Regions from separate parts of the Homo sapiens genome. Here all the other regions are linked to region 1. Evidence: promoter capture Hi-C in 16 types of primary human blood cells and fetal thymus (Javierre and others, 2016). All regions are on one chromosome and are shown on one strand. Each heading gives the region's core, a stretch centred on a gene start or on the middle of the fragment in contact. The rest is flanking DNA. Distances are from core to core; before and after follow the strand shown.

Evidence for each region. The method cuts DNA at HindIII sites, captures the fragments that hold promoters and counts their contacts. A CHiCAGO score of 5 or more calls a contact.
Region 2: the fragment with the promoter of FAM199X here is called in contact with the fragment with the promoter of BTK in region 1 in 5 of 17 cell types (neutrophils, M0 macrophages, activated CD4 T cells and 2 more); the score reaches 12.1 in neutrophils.
Region 3: a fragment that was not itself captured here is called in contact with the fragment with the promoter of BTK in region 1 in 1 of 17 cell types (neutrophils); the score reaches 5.1 in neutrophils.

What each region holds. Positions count from the first base shown.
Region 1 is chrX:101,384,903-101,387,494 of GRCh38, reverse strand. BTK (Bruton tyrosine kinase) reads left to right here and starts at 1,304. Exons shown (of 19, transcript NM_000061.3): 1 at 1,304-1,433. RefSeq lists an enhancer at 1,818-2,037. The HindIII fragment of the contact is 7,609 bases long and covers 1-2,470 here.
Region 2 is chrX:104,165,161-104,167,752 of GRCh38, reverse strand. It overlaps FAM199X (family with sequence similarity 199, X-linked), which reads right to left and starts at 1,300. Exons shown (of 6, transcript NM_207318.4): 1 at 771-1,300. The coding sequence starts at 967. RefSeq lists an enhancer at 958-1,458 and a silencer at 1,023-1,512. The HindIII fragment of the contact is 4,401 bases long and covers 307-2,592 here.
Region 3 is chrX:103,693,318-103,695,909 of GRCh38, reverse strand. No RefSeq gene overlaps it. Among named protein-coding and RNA genes, the nearest start is that of MORF4L2-AS1, 7.3 kb to the right of the region's middle. The HindIII fragment of the contact is 4,314 bases long and covers 1-2,592 here.

The DNA of each region.
Region 1 (2,592 bases), core at 55-2,554:
CTATAGTCCCAGGTACTAGGGTGACTGAGGTGAGAGGATCACTTGAGCCCAGGAGGTGGAGGCTGCAGTGAGCCATGATCACGCCACTGCACTCCAACCTGGGCTTCAGAGCAAGACCCTGTCTCAAAAAAAAAAAAAAAAAAAAAAGGTCCCAGGGCCTGTTGGGGCTTGGGGGTGAGGGGAGGGATCTTAGAGGATGGGTCAATAGGTGCAGCAAATCACCATGTCACACATATACCTATGTAACAAACTTGCACCTTCTGCACATATACCCCATTTTTTTTGTTTGCTTGTTTGTTTGTTTTTTAGACAAAATAAAGAAAAAAAAATAAGGTCCTGTTGACTTAAAACTTCGGATGAAATTGTAGTGGGACCTGTGATCTGTTTCTACATTAGGATACAGTGCCTTGGGGCAAGGAAATATGGCAGTGCCCGAGGTGTCAAGGTGGGCAGGCAGATCAGTCAGCAGGGGCTCCACCATCATGGTCTGCATTCAATACTGGCTGCATTTCCTAGGAGAATCCCTGGGGGAATCATTGCAGTTGGAGCATAATGTAGGGGGCCCCTGAGAAAACCTCCAGGCTTCAAGTGACATACCTAGTCTGCTTTACCGGTTTACAGGACTCAAGAGAAAGGTGGACATTGAGAGTTAATCCCTGAGGCCAAATCTTAAATGGAGAAAGTCAACATCCACAGAAAATGGGGAAGGGCACAAGTATTTCTGTGGGCTTATATTCCGACATTTTTATCTGTAGGGGAAAAATGCTTTCTTAGAAAATGACTCAGCACGGGGAAGTCTTGTCTCTACCTCTGTCTTGTTTTGTCCTTTGGGGTCCCTTCACTATCAAGTTCAACTGTGTGTCCCTGAGACTCCTCTGCCCCGGAGGACAGGAGACTCGAAAAACGCTCTTCCTGGCCAGTCTCTTTGCTCTGTGTCTGCCAGCCCCCAGCATCTCTCCTCTTTCCTGTAAGCCCCTCTCCCTGTGCTGACTGTCTTCATAGTACTTTAGGTATGTTGTCCCTTTACCTCTGGGAGGATAGCTTGATGACCTGTCTGCTCAGGCCAGCCCCATCTAGAGTCTCAGTGGCCCCAGTCATGTTGAGAAAGGTTCTTTCAAAGATAGACTCAAGATAGTAGTGTCAGAGGTCCCAAGCAAATGAAGGGCGGGGACAGTTGAGGGGGTGGAATAGGGACGGCAGCAGGGAACCAGATAGCATGCTGCTGAGAAGAAAAAAAGACATTGGTTTAGGTCAGGAAGCAAAAAAAGGGAACTGAGTGGCTGTGAAAGGGTGGGGTTTGCTCAGACTGTCCTTCCTCTCTGGACTGTAAGAATATGTCTCCAGGGCCAGTGTCTGCTGCGATCGAGTCCCACCTTCCAAGTCCTGGCATCTCAATGCATCTGGGAAGCTACCTGCATTAAGTCAGGACTGAGGTGGGTCTGGGGTATGGCAGGGGCTGGGCAGCAGCAGCAATGTACCTTGCTTGGGACCCCTAAAAACCAGAGAGACAGCATGGCTGGTGCCATTTATCAGCTAGTGGAGGAGGCTGACGGAGGGTGGGAGTGTCATCAGCACAAGGCCCTGGCAGTCCCTTCTGGTGATTAGAGAGGCCGAAAGGGTCCTTTCCGACAAGGGCTGAGGGTGGGCGGAACAGGAAGAGAAAAATGTGACATGAGGTGACCATCCGAACAGGTAGCAAATGTTAGAAAGGGGTACCTCTGGCAAACTTAGTGGAAAAGTAATATTGCAGGGAGCAGTCAGATAAAAACAAGCCCTTCTGTCAAATAGTGCTTGAAGACTCAATAGGGATACATGGGTCAATGAAGCCTTTAGAAAAAGAAATACTAAGAGGCAGATTCTCTGAGAACATGGTAAAAGCTCACGCTCCACGTTATGAAGTTGACCTTTGTGAGCTAGGGAAAGGCCTGGCTAGGCCAGGGTGTAGGCTACCTGCCTTGAGCTGTACCAGGCCAAATGTCGCCAGGGTCAGAGCTGGCTTATTAAAGGACTGTGTGGAAGCTGTGCCAACCTCGTGGTAACAATGGGTAAAAGACTGGGCCAGGAGAAAGCAGCCTCTGCCTCAGCCCAGACAGTGCGGCCAACCCTTGAGGTTGTGGCAAAGGTTTCTCCTCTTACCATTGCCCTCCATGTGCATGGCTTGCTTTTCTCTTGTCTTCATTATTTCTCCTTTCCTTTCCTCCTCTCCAACCTCCTCCTCTTCCCACTCATCCTCTTTTCTCTACCTATATCCCCTCTTCATTATACCCTCCTCTGTTCTGTTGATTACCAGACCCTGACATACAGTTAGCACTTAACAAATAATTGCCGAATTGCATTGACTTTTTCTTGCTCCTTTCTTCCCCCGCTCTTTTCCCTTTTCCTTTCCCTTTCCATTTCCTCCTCCCTGCCTGCCTAGCACCTTCCCCATAAGGTGGTTGTGAGCAGTAAATGTGCAAATACATGTAAAGCTTTTAAAACAGGGCCTGGCAATAGTAAGTGCTGGATCTCAGTATTTGCTATAATTTTTACTCTGCCTCAGACCTGCCAATGTCCCCCAGAGGGCCTACCTAGAGCAAATAATATGACATTTAG
Region 2 (2,592 bases), core at 51-2,550, 2.8 Mb before region 1:
AATCAGTTAGGAGGAGATACACCCTCTGAATAAATTTGTGTAAGTCAGTCCATCCTAAGCCTTACTCTGTCTCTTCAAAGGGGAAGGAAACCAAGGGATATGTCATATGAAGGAATCCTCCAGATTTAAGCTTACCAATTTTGGCAGAGCCTAAAGCGCTAAGGCAAACAGTTAATAAAGGAGGAGGAAAAAAAGAGAGAATCGACTAGTTTCCTAGCGCTCAACTAAAAAAAAAAATGGGGTAGGGGTGGTGGCGGCGGGGGGAACAGGACTGTGAGACAGATTAAAAATAGGGAAAATGAAGCTTCTAGCTTTAAATGTTCCACCTTTCAACGCCACTTTTCAAAAGATCTATGGATTGATCTTGAGCCATCCAAATTCCTCTACAGCGTACCGGAAATGGAAGGGGTTAAACTTTTGCAGATGGATGCAAACAGGGGCGTATCTAAAAATCAAGGGTGGGGGTTTGGGATTCGTAGGGTACAGATGGGGGGAGGGAAGGGAAGCAAGGGAGGGAGAAGGTAGGGAAGGGAGGAGTCGCTATAGCCAGAATATGAATGAGGAAAAGAGAGTAAAACGCCGGTCGAAAGGAAAATAGGAGGGCAGGGGTGAAAATAGGGAGGGGGGGCAGGGAAGGAGGCCGGGAATGAGCGCTGGTCGAAAGCAGGTGGGGGAGGGGGCGACTGGAAGCGCAGCCCGGGACGAAGGATCAGGAGCGGGGGGCGACCAGAAGTGGAAAATCCACCCCTGCCCTCAGGTGCAGTTCGTACCTGTTGGTGTGGAAGCGGTGGAGCGGGTCGGTGCGATGGCAGGAGGACAGCTGGCAGCCGAAGTCGCTGATGTCCAGGCAGCCCGGCTCCTCGCTCGGGCAGGTGCCCACCCCGCGAGGAGGTCCCAGGAGTGGGAAGGGCTCCTCGGGGGTTAGAAACTTCTCGTAGGAAGTGATGGCCGAGGCCTCGTCGGACATGGTTGGAGATGGCCTGGCTCGGGCTCCCTCTCTGGCCCTGGGCTGCTCCCGCGCCCGCCCCTGCCCCCACTCTAACCTGTCCGCAGTCGCCGACGCTCCGGGGTGTGCCCGTCGCAGCTCACTGGCAGGCTGGGCGTCGCGGCCCGCTGCTGCTTGCCGGGGTGCGGGGCCGCGCGAAGAGGCTGCTCGAGGCCACAGCGGCCCACCGGCCACCCAGTTAGCGCCCCGGTGGCCTCTGCAGCTTCCGCCGCCGCCAGACTCAGCCCGTCAGCGCAGCGCCGCCGCCCGGCCCGGCCAGGCCCGCCCCGCCCACTGCGCTCGCCGCTTGCGACTGCAGCAGTCTGCCCGGCGCCCGCAAGGAGGGGAAGGGCGGCGGGAAGCCACTCCCCGTGCCCCCTGCTGGACCGGAGGAGGAACTGAACCTCCGCCCGCCGCGGCCCCAAGCGGCCCGCCCCGCCCTCTACGCATCGAATCAGGGATTCAGGCCGCTAGAAAGGCTAGGCGCCTCTGGCCAACCTCCTCCTCCGCTTTCTCACTCGTACTCGACTACTAAGCAGGAACCGCAGTCCCAGAAAAGGGACTTGGCCAAGGTCACACTGCGGGTGCGTGAGAAAACATCCAGATGCCCTGGTTCCCAGCGCACTCTTTCATTCTGTCCCAATTCAACAAGTATTTATTGAGCTCCTGCAGTGTGTGCCCAGCACCGTGCAATGAGGTGTAGGAGAAATCGTCCAAGCAGGGAAAATAGTCCCTTCCTCACCCTTGATCACCTAACTCCAAGAACCCTACGCTGCAGCCACTCGCCTACTCAGAGCTGCTGGACACGTCGTACTCTTTTGTGCTTTGCGCCTTTTGCTCATAGGCACCCTGCTTGGAATGCCCTGCCATTTCTCCCCTGCTAATCCTTCAAACTCCAGCTCAAACGTTATCTCCTCAGTGAAGCCTTCCCTGACTCCCAAAGGAGACTAAGGCACACCTGCTAATTTGCCCCCTCCCTCCCGTAGAAAATATATTATGGAGCTTAACTTGTTCAACTTGAATCAACTTGTTAGGTGTTATATAGTGTACTTTGCTGTTTATCTCATCTCTCTTCTCTATATTCTGGGCAAGTGATTCCTGTTCTTGGATGCGTAAGATTAAAAAAAAATAGAGGAAACCCCAAGATTACTAATTTCTTACTTTGCCCAAAGAAGACAATTTTTAAAACTACCTAATATTATTTTATAAAAGGAAGCACATTTTCATATAAGAGCATAATTCTTCAATAAAAGCAATTCTTTGCATTAACTATATTTATGAAGAAACTACATTGATCCTTCAGGAAAGCATAGAACTTAAATAGGCGGAAAGGAGGGGAAAAATGAAAGAAGGCAGGAGGAAGAAGAGAAAGAGGGCAGGAGAAGTGGGGGGTTGTCACTAAAACAAGCCCCATTCAGTATTAAACTCTGTGCCTTGCCCTACCAATGCAACTTATAGTGAAAACAGCTTCTCCAACGTGCCTTTAAAATGTATACATTATCTTGCTTCAGTTACTTGGTTGTTTGACTGTTGAGCATGCCGGCTTTCTTTCATTGAGATTGCAAGAAGGTGTGTTGCATTGTGTATGTGGCTTTCAAAATGAATCA
Region 3 (2,592 bases), core at 34-2,533, 2.3 Mb before region 1:
GAGTCCCCAGTTTTACAGATGGTCCTGAAATTGAGGTCTTTTGCAGGCTCCAGTACCCTGAAAAGTCTCCATCACTGAGCCCAGGTAAAGCAAAGCCCTTCACTAGAAATTTGAAGTCACGAAGTGAGTGGTAAGTGTAAGGGGTTCACTCAGTTGTGAGCACCATCGAGGTAAGAAAAAAGTCTCCATCTGTAGCTATGAGCACAGCACTTGGAACAATGGAGGTGGGCAATAAATGCTAGCCCAACGAACAACTACAAATGTGGAAGTAAGTGTATTTGGCCATACTGCCAAATTTCTCTGGTTGGAAGGATCAATGAGTAAGTTTTCTTGTGTTTTTGGAGGAGGCAGTGGTGGGGGAAACAGAAAGGAAGAGAACATGAGTCTACAAGATCATTGGGAGGCCGGGTTTAGGGTAAGCTGAGGTTGGAGTTCTCTGGGTTTTGTTTGATCATTTTTTGCTTTGTTCTGTTTGTTTTGTCAGAAGGCAGGGTTCTCTCATGATTTTTTTTATACCCCTATTTAAAAACTTTTAAAGATTTCCCTTTGCACAGAAGTGTAAGATTAATCCTTCAGTTGGCTACTAATATTGCCTTATCTCCCTTGGATTTATTCACAAATTTTTGTGGAGTGCCTAACACAATATGCCAGGCACTGTGCTAAATACACAGATACATGGTGAGGAAGAAACATAACTCCTGCCCTCAGAGGGCTGACATTCTGGCAGGGGAGACAAACTTAGATAGAGACATTTAAGAAGTGACCAGAAGGAAAAGTAAGATGGAAAGAGGCAAGAAGGACCAGGAAGGCAAAGGAGAAGGAAGATGTTAGAGGTAGGAGAGTTTCCAAGAGGGAAGTGATGTAACAGATTTGCATTTGCAAAAAAACTCCGGCTGCAGAGTGGAGAACAAATTGTAGGGAGACATGAGTAGGTCATCAGGTGAAAATAGTGGTGTCTTAGAAAGGGGAAAGTAATGGGTGCTATGGGAACATAAAGCAAGAGTACTTAATCTGGCCCTGGAGATCAGGGAAGGCCTCCCTGAGGAAGTGACATTTAAGTGAGTTTTGAAGACTGGGTTAGCTGTGGTGAGGAACATGACGGGGTGAAGACTGAAGAGAGTCTGTGTCATACTAACTTTCTGCCTTCGCGAAGGCAGGCCTCATTGTTACTAACAATTTGGTCCTAGCCTGGAATGCCTGGTATCTTTTTTCCCTTGGCCAAATTGTGTCTATCTTTCTATAGCCCTCTCAAACTCCATTTTCTCTGATGATGACCAGATATGACTACTCTCGTTTCTAAACTCTTATTCTATGTCTGTCACTTAGGATTTAAAGTCTTACTATTGGTATTGTGACTTAAGGTTACACGTTTACAAACTTCTTGTAAGTTCCTTGAATTTACGAGCTGTCTTGTATTACTTTGGCATCACCCAGAGTATCTAGCCCAGTGACAGGCACATGAGGTATTCACTGAAAGAATGAATGAATGAATGAGGCACTAGAGTCCCTGCAAGCCTCCTTTGGTAGTTCACTATTATCTGTGAAGCTGACAAGGAAAGGGGTCTGCTTTCCCTATAAGATTTGTACTAAGTACTTGGATGCACAAACCTAAGATCTGAAATTGACAGCTCCTTCCCTCTGGTCACTGATTCTCACCCCCTTGCAATCCTGCCCACCCCTACCCACCACCTTCTATTGTTTCTTCTGTCTTCTGGTTCTCAGCCAGGATGAGAAAATGGTCTAGCTGTCCTCAGAGACTTACGCCAGCCTGGACTGCTCTGCAGTGCCATGAAGGGCCAGGACTTTTGTTTACAGCTGGGAGCATGGTGAGGTGGTGAGCACAGCTGACAGCCCCACTCTGGAGCAAACATCAATCTTCCTCTGTCCTCTCGGCCAAGTTTCACAGACCAGCTCTATTGAAAGCTGGCTGTACCGGCCTGGGTCTCATTGACGTCCTACCCAGAACTCTGGCCTGGAAGCAGCGGGGTGAATCTCGGCTTTGTACCTTTTAGGAACTGCCCTTGCTCCCTTCTCTGTCCCCAGTTTCAAACCATTTTATCTCAACCTCAGGACCTTGAGAGAACATGTGCTCTGATTTCCCCATGCCCTAAACAGTGCCCCACCTCTCCAACCATATCTGCTCACTCCCAGCAGTGTACAAACCCCGTCATTTGCTTAGTTACACAGTGAAAACACAACAAAGAACGAACAAAACCACATAGTTTTCAATGGGTACTCTATGGAACCCGCCTTTCCAAGCAGGTTCAGGTTGGACCTGGAACAGTCAGGTTCCAAGTCCTTGAAAGAGTGTGTGTGTGTGTGTGTGTGTGTGTGTGTGTGTGTGTGTGTGTGTGATCTTTGCCTTCAGGCAGCTTTCCCATTGTTTTATTGTTGTTGTTGTTGATTTTTGTGTATGGTGAGAGACAGGGATCCACCCCACTGTTTTAAAAACTGCAGGTCAGCTGGGCATGATAGCTCACGCCTGTAATCCCAGCACTTTGAGAGGCCAAGGCGGGCAGATCACCTAAGTCAGGAGTTCAAGACCAGCCTGCCCAACATGGCGAAACCCCGTCTCTACTAAAAATACAAAAA